Linked DNA regions of Homo sapiens: region 1 is linked to region 2. The links are contacts of gene promoters, found by promoter capture Hi-C in blood cells and fetal thymus (Javierre and others, 2016). All regions are on one chromosome and are shown on one strand. The core of a region is centred on a gene start or on the middle of the fragment in contact, and the rest is flanking DNA. Distances in the headings are between cores, read along the strand shown. Region 1 has its middle 51 kb from the start of TIMM21. Region 2 holds the start of CYB5A (cytochrome b5 type A).

Evidence for each region. Contacts are between HindIII fragments. The CHiCAGO score rates a contact against its expected background, and 5 or more counts as called.
Region 1: a contact is called between a fragment that was not itself captured here and the fragment with the promoter of CYB5A in region 2, in 2 of 17 cell types (M2 macrophages and M0 macrophages). The highest score is 5.5, in M2 macrophages.

What each region holds. Positions count from the first base shown.
Region 1 is chr18:74,196,158-74,202,619 of GRCh38, reverse strand. No RefSeq gene overlaps it. Among named protein-coding and RNA genes, the nearest start is that of TIMM21, 51 kb to the right of the region's middle. RefSeq lists an enhancer at 4,363-5,019. The HindIII fragment of the contact is 1,986 bases long and covers 3,334-5,319 here.
Region 2 is chr18:74,288,545-74,295,544 of GRCh38, reverse strand. It overlaps CYB5A (cytochrome b5 type A), which reads left to right and starts at 3,582. Exons shown (of 5, transcript NM_148923.4): 1 at 3,582-3,798. The coding sequence starts at 3,670. RefSeq lists enhancers at 2,494-2,663, 3,023-3,082, 3,372-3,541, 3,621-3,790, 4,396-5,003. The HindIII fragment of the contact is 14,442 bases long and covers 1-7,000 here.

The DNA of each region.
Region 1 (6,462 bases), core at 3,077-5,576, 94 kb after region 2:
CCATGTCCCAAGGACCCCCTGCCCAGGGTTGGGGCCCATTGAGGCATCCAGTCACCAGCTCAGACTGAGACCCTTTCCTGTAAGGCTTCATGCAGATACCCCTCATATCTGTGGGGTCAAACCCCTCAGCTCCAAATCTCTGAGCCTCTGAATGCATAATCTGGTTGTGCGTTTTGGTTAGATTGATCAAAGCACAGCAGGACTCACCTTTAAGTTCTCAGGTGACAGCAGCATTATCAAAGCCCTTCTTGGGTTTATTTCTATTTCTAGTTCCTAGGGAAGAGAAAAAAAAAAAGGGGATGATATATAACACTGAACAAGCATTTACTTACGTAATCTCATTTAATCCTCACAGCCAGCCCACTGTATTAGTTGCCCAGAGATGCTGTAACCAAGTACCATAGACTAGGTGGTGTAGTAACAGAAATTTACTCTCCCACAGCTCTGGAGGCCAGAAGTCCAAAATCAAGGTGTCCTCAGGGCCATTCTCCCTCTGAAGACTCTAGGGGAGGGTCCATCCTGCTTCCTCCAGCCTCTGGAGAGGTGGTTGTTGGCAATCCTCTCTGTTCCTTGATATGTGGGTACATTACTCCAATCGCTGCCTCTGTCCTCGCCTGGCCTCTGCATGTGTATCTCTCTGTGTCCCACCTCTTCCCATAAGAACACCCGGCACTGGACTTAGGGCCCATCCAAATCCAGTATGATCTATCTTCATTCACACATTAATGATATCTGCAATGATTGTATTTCCACATAAGGTCACATTTACATATCTTTTTGGGGGGATGCAGCAAACTTCCAACACTTACCTTGATTTTATAGATGACCAGGTCAATATTTAGAGCAGCTAAGTCATCTTTCAGGTTTTAGTTTGTGTTGGGGATGCAAAATTTCTCCTCAGCCCTTTTAGAGTTGCTAGATGAGCCCAGTGAATCCACTGACAGAGACAGCTTCAGAGGAGAAAAGTAGGCAGATTTTATTAAGTAATTTTTGTATAGACATGGGAGCCCTCACAAGAAAAACGAAGACCCAAAGAAGGAGTTGGGGCCACGAACTTATGCACTAGGTTGAACAAAGTGTCATAAATTGTGGAAACATGACAAGACAAAGGGGCTTGGGTAGGGCAGTCAGTTGGGGGCAAATGACCAGGAAGGTAAGTGTTGGCTTCACAAGGTTTGTTTGTAGAGCACCCTGGGCTTTGACTCTGATGACAAGGATCTCTTCCTTTCTCCTGGTGGAGGGGGGGCATCTTTCACACAGGGTTTCATCTCTTGCTTACAGGAAGAAAAAGGAAAGTCAGGGTCTCCTTCTTGCACCTGCTGGTTTTCAAGTGCCCTGAGCTCAGAATAATCCTTACGCCAAAGCGGCATGTGTTGGGGCGGCCTATTCTACTGCCCTTCATTTTTAAGAGGGCAGAGTCAGGGTTCACAGCCGATTCTGTTAGAGTCGGAGCCTGTGTCCCTTCTTCAGGGCTATGCAGCCCACCTGGGGCCACTGGCATGACCCCTCCTGCACCACTGTCATTCACCTTTAGTCGTGCAGAGCGTGAGTCAAAGTCCCTCCCAGGCGGCTTAGGGCAGCACCCGCAGTGTTGGAATGGAAGCGCCAATGCATCCTCCCTCCATGAGAGCAATGCCCGAGTGGGAATCCTGGCTGGGGAGTGCAGCTCTCCCCACGTGGCCCTGGGCGCTTCCCACGGGGGCTGAGGGGAAAGACGGACTCTGCAAACCACAGTCCAGCCAGGGCCACAAAAGGAGAAGGGGCGCTTCAGACCCCGTGTGCGTTCAGAAGCAGAACAAACAGGACACAAGTCGTGGCGTTGCCGCTCTGTCTCCTGCCCAGATATTCCAGTGGACACACAGGGAGATTTTATGTCCTTTGAACAGAAAGAGAAGCTGTTTGAGGAAATAAAAGAAGAAAAGGAGATTGTGAAATCTAAGAGTCTTTTATTTTCCTGTGTGCGATGTTTGGCAAAGTAGGAGAGGAGCATGAAGAAGGGCCCCTATGTGACTTATGTTAGAAATGTCTTAGTCAAACGGGTCCGCGGAGTCGTCCTTCTCAGGTGCCCTCCCGGGAAAGCTGGCAGCAAAATTATTTTTATCCCAAATAACTAAGGAAGCCGAGGTTTTGTGATTGGCTTCCCACCTCCTTTTCTGTTCTTTGTGGTAGTCATCTGAGCAACTTACACACACTGCATCACAGTTTTCCTCTCCCATGAACTGAAAAACATTTAATTTTTATTTTTTTCCCATGGATTTTGGCTAAATCAAGCACTCTTCACACCAGGCACATAAGAAGAAAATAAGGAAGCTGATCCATTGGAGTTTAGTGAATGAAGAAATCGTGCCTTCTGTCCATGCCCCACACTCCCAGCCCCCCGCCCACAACGGAGAACACACAAGCACCAGTGCCCCACACCACCCAGGGTAGAATGTGGCCATCGCAGGATGAGAGGCTCCTGTGGGAAGGAGAGCCCGAGGAGGCTGGGTGGAGCTGCACCTCGTTAGCCTTCATCTGGACAGTTTCTAAGGGACTCCCTCCTTGGGCCCATCCTGCCTGGCTCACGTCTCCTCTTCCCAAGGACGGGGCTTCGCTCCTTCATAGTCTGGCTGGGAAGTGAGAGAGCCATAACCCCATGGACACAACCTGAGACTTGATTGTTGGGAGACAAGATGATTTTACAGAAACATGTTTTATTTTTTTTCAAATGACTTTGTTGCAAAGTCCCCGCTTTTTTTTTCAAGAGATGGGGTCTCACCCTGTCACCGAGGCTGGAGTGCAGTGGCACCATCATAGCTCACTGCAGTCTCAACTCCTGGGCTCAAGCCATCCTCCTGTCTCAGCCTCCAGAGTAGCTGGGACTACAGGTGCCTGTGACACCAGGCCCAGCTAATTTTTAGTTTTTTTTGTAGAGATAGGGTTGCTAATTTTTAATTTTTTTGTAGAGATAGGGTCTTGCTATGTTGCCCAGGCTGGTCTTGAACCCCTGGCCTCAAGCAGTCCTCCCTCCTGGGCCTCCCAAAGTTCTGGGGTTACAGGTGTGAGCCACCGCACCTGGCCCAATTTATTAATTGCCCCCAACATATCACGGGCATGACGTTTTCCTCTTTCCCAGGGAGAAGATGATGATAATAACAGTTGCTAACACTCTCTGAGCTATATGCCAGGTACCATTATGAGTGCTGTGTATCCAGTAACTCGTTTTTATCCTTGAAAAAGGATTTTGAGGAAAGGAGTGTACGTGTCCGTGTCCTTGTTTCACAGATGAGAAAACAGCTACAAAGAGATTCAGTTACTTATTTAAAGTCTCATAGTTAATAAGGACTCCAAGCTTCAAGCTCTTCACCTCCACTAGGCTGCTGATGTAGCAAACTTCCCAATTTTTCTTATCCTTATCACCCAAGGTATAATAATTTCAAATGAACTTTTAGAAAGTGTCTACAGTCTTGGGTTTTCCAGTAGTTTCTGGCATGGCTTGTTAACCCGCTGGCCATCACTCGTAACCTCCCCACCCCTGACCTGGGCTTTGAAAGCGTTTTCTTCCTCCTTTGCACTGTGGCCTGAGAAGCCTCCCTCCAGCAGTTCACCCGGACCTCAGGTCCATCCTGTCCCCACCTCCAGCTCCCTTACCCAGACCTCAGGCCCATCCTGTCCCCACCTCCAGCTCCCTCACCCGGACCTCAGGTCCATCCTGTCCCCACCTCCAGCACCCGGACCTCAGGTCCATCCTATCCCCACCTCCAGCTCCCTGTCAGAGCGCTGCTAAGTCCTGGGGCCTATTGCCATCTCATAGGCAGTCTGAGTACTTCATGGAAGCCCTATTGTCTTCCATTTCCGACCCTGTCCCATCTTGGCAGGATCTGTTGGCCAGATGATGCTGGCCTCCCATGTTGTACACCCAGGAGCCACTTCCTGCCATGCCCAGCCACTGTGACTGAGTCTGCTCTCCCCTGAGCCACCAGGGCACCTGAGCAACATCCGGACACCTGAGGCCTCAGGGCACCACAGCTGTGCTGGGTGCAGTGCGTCTGTGCCACCTCTGTTGTCTGAGCACTGAGGGGCACAGGGCACAGCCCATCTGCATGGACATGCTGCTCCCTAGGACTTAGGATTTGGATGTAAGGACCAGGACCTGGAGGTGGCTCTTGGAGCTGGCCATGTCATCCAAGTGGACCCTCCTTTGGGGATACCCTCATTCTCTGTTTGCCCTCTCTTCCTGCTCATCCTCTTCTAGCTCTGAGTCCCATCAACAGCTCCTGTTCCAACCTCGTGCCCTTCTGCCTGAAGCCTGAGCAGTGGAGCCAGGCCCCACCATGGCCTGACCTGCAGGCTCTGGCATTGTCCCAGCGCACTGTGTCCGGGAGCTGGACGTCCCCACCTGGCATGGCCCCAGTGGCTGAGCATGGGCTTGCCCCCACCCACAACCTGATTGCTCTCTTTCCCTCTGCCTCAACCCTGGGCAGGGACCAGGGGGACTGAACCACTGCCCCCGCCCCGGCCGAGCCTCCTCAGCCCCCTGGCTCTGACTGCTGCAGGCAAAGCTAGGATGCATGTTGCCCAGGGTTTACAGGTCATTCTCTGCATCCAGCTGACTTATGCCACTGGCTTACAATCCCGGGAAACTCCTGGGGGTGGTGGTGCCGAGCCTAGGTTCCCCTGGGCTCAGGGAAGCTGGGTTAATCTCCGGTGAGCTCCATGCCCAGGGCATGGGGAAGTGGCACAGAGAGCAGCCTCTGGATCGTTGGCCTGGTAGGGATTTCCGGGTTCATGTTCTGCCCTTTGTTTAATGTCCCTTTCAGCTCTCCAGTTATGCAAAACAGAGGAGCCATACCCCACTTCACAGAAACAGGAGGCCCACAGGCATGCACCAGGAGAGCTTCCTGCCCTACTGGCTTCTCCAAGTGGGAGGGGAGGAGCATTTCCGGGACCAGGCTATATACAATGTGGCTTTTGGAGAAAATACATTTAAAAAACTCTTTCTCAAATTAAAATATATCTTTTAAAGTGTTTTTTCTTTTTTTTTAGACAGAGTCTCCCTCTGTCACCCAGGCTGGAGTGCAATGGTGTGAACTCGGCTCAGTGCAAGCTCTGCCTCCCAGGTTAATGCCATTCTCCTGTCTCAGCCTCCCGAGTAGCTGGGACTACAGGTGCCCGCCACTGCTCCTGGCTAACTTTTTGTATTTTTTTTTTTTTTTAGTAGAGACAGGGTTTCACCGTGTTAGCCAGGATGGTCTTGATCTCCTGACCTCATGATCCGCCTACCTCGGCCTCCCAGAGTGCTGGGATTACAGGAGTGAAAGGGTTTTAGCAAATTAAGCTTCTTATGGGGGAAAAACATCAGGGGAATGTTTCATAGTCCCTTTGAGATTTCTAATGCACTTAGGTCTTGGGGATTTTGTACTCACTTTCTTTTTGCTTTTTTCTCTGATAAATCCAGTGATGAACAAAATATTCCCTTTGGGAGAGAGTGGGAATGATTTCAAACTTCCAACATTTCAAGTAATAAACACTTTAAGAGTATATCAATTGCTTCACTTTTCCCATTAAATGCATGTTACTTTACATACTGGCCATATCCCTTTTGTGCAAAATACAACACAAGTTTAGCTGAATTCTCTCCCTCCCCCAAAGAGTGAATTACTCCCTTACCCATGCTGCCTGTCCCTGTGCAAATGTTGGCTCTGGTACTTGTAGTTATTTGTGCTTCCCATTCATCTATTCTTGAGGACAAGGATTGAGTCTTTTTTCAAATTTGTGGCCTCATTGTCTAGCACAAAGGCTTATGGAATGCAAACTGTAATATTTAAATATTTGTTGAATACATGGAGGCTGTGTCCAAATTTTTTAAAATTTAATTGGACTTACTAGGGGATATCGAAATGTAAATAAATGCTATATAAAATATATCTTAAAGAGACAAATACCTTTAAAAGGATATTCTAAAGGAAGAATGGTCTCAAAAGAATGCCTTTATAGTGTAAATAATTATCAACTTAGTTAATATCATAAACCTGGGTGGATCAATTCATTATGGTGGTGTCGGTTGCCCTCTAGTGGCCATGAAGGGGTAAGGCGTCATTTAGGCTCTGAAGACCCTGAATTTCTGTTACGATGGCTGAGAACCAGGAAGCCTTCTCACCCACCCAGCAGAGGGAATTGGTTTGGAGACAGAACAAAACGACAAAAGGCAAACAGTAGAATCAACTCAACGATACCTGGTTCTTTCATATGGAATACTTAACATTCTTCCTCTATTTACAAAGACAAACAAAGAGCCAAAGCCTCAGGTATGAGCAAATGAAGGTTAGGGCTCCCTCTTTTGATGAAACGCATTAATCTACCATTCTGAGCATGTTTGCTGCCGTGTACTGAAAAGTTAAACGCATGGCAGGAAGGAATAGAATCAGTTCTGTCTTCTTTATCTTCATTACTCCTCTCTCCTTTGGATCAATGGAAGACGCA
Region 2 (7,000 bases), core at 2,333-4,832:
ACAGAATGGGTTATGGAGGGGTAAAATGGGGGAATTGTAAGGAGAGTTTATAGGCTTTATAAGGCCATGCTGTAACAAGTGAGTGATAACAGGCTTTAATTCTTTTAAAGCGTGCTGTGGGATGGGATATTGGTGTTGAGCAGGGTAAGGGTGATTAGGTTTTAATGGGATGGTAAGGGGTGCATGATCAGTTGCCAAGGAGGGAGTAGAGATGTCTCATACTTGTGGATTAAGGTGAGGAGATACAAGGAAAATATGTGAAGGAGGCTTTGAACTGGGAAAAAGGGTGACAATGAGGTGTGGCTGTAGCCTAGGAATAGTCAGGGAAGCAGATAATTTAGTTAAAATGCCTCGACCTAATAAGGGAACTGGGCAGGCGGGAATAACTAAAAAGGAGCGCATAAAAGAATACTGTCCCAGTTGGCACCAGAATTGGGGAGTTTTAAGAGGTTTAGAAGCCTGGCCGTCAATACCCACAACTGTTATGGAGGCAAGGGAAAGAGGCCCTTGAAAAGAAGGTAATGTGCAGTGGATAGCCTCCGTATTAAGAAGGGGATGGACTCATCCTCCACTGTAAGAGTTACCTAAAGCATCTATCATGGTCCAGGAGGCTTCCAAGGCGATCGGGCAGTGTCAGTCTTCAGCCACTAAGCCGAGAAGATCTGGGAAGGAGTCAGTCAGTGAGCCTTGCGCCAGAGTTCCAGGAACTCTAGGAATGGCTGCCAGGTGAGTTGGACAGTCCAATTTCCAGTGGGGTCCTGCACAGATGGGACATTGCTTAGGAGGAATCCGGGCTGCAGACATTCCTTGGCCCAGTGGCCACATTTTCAGTACTTGAAGCAAGATCCTGGGGTAGGAGGTCTTGGAAGAACGCCTGGCCACTGCGGTTTAGGCGTTTTGAAATTCTTGTATGCTGGAGATGTGGCTGAAGTTTCTCTCACAGCAGAGGCAAGTAATTGCCACTCTTCTCTATTATTGTACACCTTGAAGGCAAGGTTAAGTCCTGTTGTGGGGTTTGAGGGCTGGAATCCAATTTTTGGAGCTTTTTCTAACGTCAGGAGTGGGTTGGGTAATAAAATGCATACTGAGAATAAGACGGCCTTCTGGCCTCTCTGGGTCTAGGGCGGTAAGGCGTTTAAGGGTTGTTGCCAAACGGGCCATGAACTGGGCTGGGGTTTTATATTTGATGAAAAAGAGCCTAACTGTTTTGGGAGAGGTCGGATAAAGAAAACAGGAGCAACAACCTTGACTATGCCTTTAGCTCCAGCCACCTCTTTAAGAGGAAATTGTTGGGCAGGTGGGGTAGGGCTAGTCAAGGAACAAAACCATAAGCCGGACTAGGTGTGAGGAGGGGAAGTGATAGAAGGATTATAGAGTGGGGGAACAGAGGCTGCGGAAGAATTGGGACCTGGCTCAGCCCGGCGAGCAGGGGAGAGGTCAGATGGCTCCACAGAAAAGGAGGATTCAAAGTACTCAGAGCTTGGGGTGGAGACCGAAGGAACACACAGGAGAGAAAGAAGAAAGATTTGGGATGAGTCGCATTGGGAGCAGAGACTAGGGCGGGACTGATGTGTAGAAGAATGCCTGGATGTCAGGAACCTCAGACCATTTGCCCATTTTACGACAAGAATTATCTAGATCTTGTAGGGTGGAGAAATTGAAAGTGCCATTTTCTGGCTATTTGGAACCACTGTCAAGTTTGTATTGGGGTCAGGTGGTATTGCAGAAGAAAATAAGGTGTTTAGGTTTTAGGTCAGGCGAGAGTTGAAGAGGTTTTAAGTTCTTGAGAACACAGGCTAAGGGAGAAGAAGGAGGAATGGAGGGTGGAAGGTTGCCCATAGTGAAGGAGGCAAGCCCAGAGAAAAGAGAGGGCAGAGACACAGGGGGGGTCGGTACTTGACACCAAGGTGAAGGATCAAGGCAGGTGTCCCTGTGGTGATCAGACACCTCTGAAATGTGGGTGAATAATCAGGCAGGCATCCCTGCAGTGATTAAACACCAAGGGAAGACTGTCTTCTCGAGTCCGTGACCAGTGCCGGAGTTTTGGGTTCACGGATAAAACACATCTCCTCTGTCTCTATCAGAAAAGGAAAGGAACTGAAATTAAGGGAAGGGATAGATTGAAGGGTGGTGCCAAAATTGAAAGGAGAAAGAGGTTGAGAGATAGTGAGAGAGGTTGGAGAAGAGAGTAAAAAGAAGCTGCTTACCCAATTTAAAATTGGTGAGATGTTCCTGGAGCTGGTTGGTCTGAGGACCCGAGGTTGTAGGTGGATCTTTCTCACAGAGCAAAGAGCAGGAGGACAGGTGACTGTCTTATCAGTTAAGGCAGGAACCGGCCATTTTCACTTCTTTTGTGATTCTTCAGTTGCTTCAGCATTTTCACTTCTTTTGTGATTCTTCAGTTGCTTCAGGCCATCTGGATGTATATGTGCAGGCTTGGGCTCAGAGGCCTGACATGCGTGTGTTTTGTGTTTTTCTGGATAGGCATGCATTCCTATGGAGGAGGTAAGCAGGGGGAAGGGAGCTCACATTCATCAGACACCTAGTATGTGTAGGAACCTTCTGCATCCCTGGAAGGATGGATGACCCCACATGTGAAACCTCTCGTGTGGTTCTTTTTGGAATTAACTACCATTGCTGAAAAGGGCCTACATAAAATATCAAATTTTAACATGCTGGAATTTTTCTTTATTTTTTTTCTCCTTCAAACATTTGTAGCTCTTTATATGTGGTATTTCCTCTGTGTCAGAAGGGAAAGAGGGTGCCCTTTGGGGAAGTTCTCTTCCAGACTCCTAGAAGAGAATCTGATTTACCTTAAATGCACAAACAAGGCCTTGCCATGTCACTGGCCAACCGCAGACAAACTACTTCAGTCACAGAAATAATTTGGACACTTTTGCTTTTTAAGGAAAAGATGATTTCCCTGGATTTTTTTCCTGTGAGGACGAGGCATTCCAAAACCCCAGCGGGGTCAGGCACAGTTCGCCAACTTTATGTTTTGGGGGGCAGCGCATTTGCTTCCCGAAGTGAGTTGCGAAACCGTTTTCTAGCGCGCACGGGGCTTTCATCTCTTCCGTGCATGCGAACGGCTTTCCGAGATGCCCCCTTTATGGGCTTGGCCATCGCTACTTTTGTTACAAATTAACGTCTGGGACTCGGACTGCTGCCAATAGGAAACTCCCGCGATTCGCTGCCTAGTTCGCCGCCCTCACAAGACTGGACTCTGCACAGGCCATCCATGCCCGCTGGTGCACCTCGCTCTCTCGCACGCTTAACCCGCGGGGACGCCCCCGACCTCCCACCTCAGCCCTCGCCACAGTTAGTCCCGCCCTTCCGCGCAGACTCCGTGGAGTCCTGTCACGCTCTCCGCGCGCTGCGGCAGCCGGGAGATTGTGAAGGGCACCTCCGGCAGCCAATTAACACCCGCATACTGGGCGGGACCACGCTTGGGCAGGCGGAGGGGGTCGACCGAAGGCGGGGACTTTTGAGTGACAAGGATGATGGCCAACCGTCGGAGGCCCTTCTACTGCGCCCCGCCCCTGAGCCGGCCGCCCAGCCCCCAGTGGGGTTCCCGGCGCGGGGAATGTCCCGGGTGGAGCTGGCTGAGTCGCGCGCTCTGCTCCACCCGACGGGGCTGTGTGTGCTGGGCCTGGCTCGCGGCGAACCGAGATGGCAGAGCAGTCGGACGAGGCCGTGAAGTACTACACCCTAGAGGAGATTCAGAAGCACAACCACAGCAAGAGCACCTGGCTGATCCTGCACCACAAGGTGTACGATTTGACCAAATTTCTGGAAGAGGTGAGTTGGGGATGAGCGGCTTGGGGCGCAGGGAGCGTGGGCCGGGTTTGGGGGTTCACTGGCATGACCTGTCTTTCGCGGCCCGGAGTCCGCATACCTACGCCTAGGCGCGCCCCCCGAGTTCGCTCACCTGCGCGTGTACGCCTGGGCGCGCTTCCGAGTCCGCACACCTGCGCGTGCAAGCCTGGGCGCCCCCCACCGCCCCAAGTCCGCACACCTGCGCGCTCACACCTGGGAGCGCTCCCCGAGTCCGCACACCTGCTAGTGTACACCTGGGCGCTCTCCTCGAGTCCGCACACCTGCGCGTGCACACCTGGGGAGCGCTCCCTGAGTCCGCACACCTGCGCGTGTACACCTGGGAGCGCTCCCCGAATCCGTACACCTGCGCGTGCACACCTGGGAGCGCCCTGCGCGGCGGCATCCTCGCTAGGTGGTGCTGGAGCAGCCTTCCGGGGATAGCGCGCAGCCATGCGGGGGATTTAAATGATCCCTTTCTCCCTTGAGTTTGAATAGAAGGGTGTCCTTCCAGGACCGGCGGCATTCCCGCAGTGGCCGGCTGGAGACCACCCACCCCGAGAGCTGCGGATCCCGCCGGAGGGGACCCCAAGTGCGGAGGTCGGGTGTGGTCCGGGCCTGCGCTTCCCGCGGCAGCCACTGGCCGACCTTGCGGTCCACACCCACTCGCGTTCGCGTTCACCTGGAAGAGGCTCGGTGTTAATTAACCTTTTCCAGTCACGCCTTGGCAGCCAGGTGCCGTGCTTGACTCCTGAGACCGCGGTGTGTGGCTGGAGCAAGAACACAGAGGCCAGGCAGAGCAGCGGACGTTCTGCGTGGGACTCGCCCCTAACAGCTTTGGAAGGTGTAATAGGAAACGTTGGTTAACTTGAAGACATTCCTTTGATAAGATTCTTTGCATTCGGTTATAATTTTTGCCGCACACGCTAAGGGGCGCTTTTGGTGATTGTCTTAGATCCTCTGGAAGTGTTTTACTACTTTTGGGGGAGTCTCAATCATAAATCTTAACGCATGCTCACGCCCCCTCCCAATAATGAGAAGGTTTAGTGATGGGAATTTTTTACATAGTCGGGGAGCAGGGGACAAAAATAGATGCCTGGTCTGAGCTGGATCACAGTTTATATCAGAGGACTTTGTTTTTGCAGAAAATGTTAAAATCAAAAGGCCTGTTTTAAAAAATGAGGCTGGGCCAAGCACGGTGGCTCACACATGTAATCCCAGCACTTTGGGAGGCTGAGGCGGGTGGATCACTTGAGTCTAGGAGTTCGAGACCAGCTTGACCAACATGGCGAAACCCCATCTCTAACCAAAATACCAAAATTAGCCAGGCCTGGCGGGGCACGCCTGTAGTCCCAGCTACTCGGGAGGCTGAGACAGGAGAATCCCTTAAACCTGGGAGGCAGAGGTTGCAGTGAGCCGAAATCGCACCACTTTGCTCCAGCCTGGGGGACAGAGTGAGACTCTGTCTCTAAATAAATAAATAAAATTAAATAATAAGGCTGGAGTTGATGTTTATTGGTAAGGTATTTCACTCTGGAGCAGTGCCCGAAGATAAAGTCATGTTACCATTTAGTAAGGAGGGGTTTATGTTGGGAAATCAGAGCTGACCTGTCCTCTCCCTCCTGCCCGGCTGCAGATCTTGTCATATAACATCAATTCTCATTAACTCTAAATGTGGAATTTTAAGATACAGTGTGTGCTTTGTCTATTTGTGCTTATAGAAGAAGTAGCATAAGAGAATATTAGGATATTTTATATTATGAAGCATTTTCTTCTTTTCTTGTCTTCTCCTAAAGCGAGTTTTTTCAACCCTGGCACTGTTGACATTTTGGGCCAGCCGATCTTTGTTGTGGCGTCTGTCCTGGGCATTGTAGGATATTGAGCCACCTCCCTGAGTTCTACCCACTAGATGACCGGTACCACCACCTCCCCTATTTTTTTTTTTTTTTTTTTTTGAGACAGAGTTTTGCTCTTGTGGCCCAGGCTGGAGTGCAATGGTGTGATCTCGACTCACTGCAACCTCTGCCTCCTGGGTTCAACCAATTCTCCTGCCTCAGCCTCCCAAGTAGCTGGGATTACAGGCGCACACCATCACGCCCAGCTAATTTTTGTATTTTTAATAGAGACAGGGTTTCAACATGTTGGCCAAGTTGGTCTCGAACTGCTGATCTCAGGTGATCCACCCACCTTAGCCTCCCAAAGTGCTGGGATTACAGGCGTGAGCCACTGCTCCCAGCCCTACCTCCCCTATTTATAGCAACCCAAAATGTCTCCAGATATTGCCAGAGGTCCCCTAGGGCACATAATCTCTCCAACTTGAGAATTACTAAGGTTACTGTGCATGACTTTAGGGGTAGATTTTCAGAGACGATAATAGGGAAGTGAAGATTATTGTTAAAATGTACTCAAAACTATTTACTTTCACATTTCATTCCTGTGAGTCAGGAAAGGAGGGATTGTGCAAAAAATTTTCCGAGAAAAACTGAGAGATGAGAGCAAGCTCTTGAGTGGGTAAATTAGCTGAAAACAAATTTCTTTATTTTTTCTTACTCAAAGTTTTTGTGGAGAATGCATCTCAAATAAAATGAACAAGAGGGTGGCTGACCCCTGGAACGGCTAGGAGGATGGCGTGAGTGAGGAGGCTGGGGTCTGGGAGAAACACAAGGAGTTAGTTTGGTTTTGGTCCTGTTGACTTTAAGAGGTTGGAGGGATCTTCAGGCATTGCGAGAACTGCATGCGTTTCTGCCTCCACTGTCTGCCAACATGTGGTTCTGGGAACAAGCAAGGCCACTTAGCCTTTCACTGGATTGTGTCTGACCTCTGGGCACCTCCCGATTCGACCTCTTATGGACGTGTTTTTCCATTTGCCGTCTTTATTATTTGCTTTGACTTTCTGTGACCATCTCTTGCTTATTGCATGTCCTGGTCATTGGCTTCCCAGCCCCCGGCAAAGCCTCTGGGAGCCTCTCTCTGGGTTCTATCTGAGACTCTAGCCAGGATTCCTTGCAGGTGACTTCCTGTGCTCCTGGGGTTATATCTCCAATAAGCTCACTCGCTCAGAGCTCTTCAGCACACTGCCCTGCCAGGTAGTTTGTTATGAGGCTAGTCTGTTTGTCTGAAACGTACTTTTAAAACAGAAATGAGTGCAGAATGTCTCTGTCTCTCTTCCCCGCTTGCCCGATCCTCT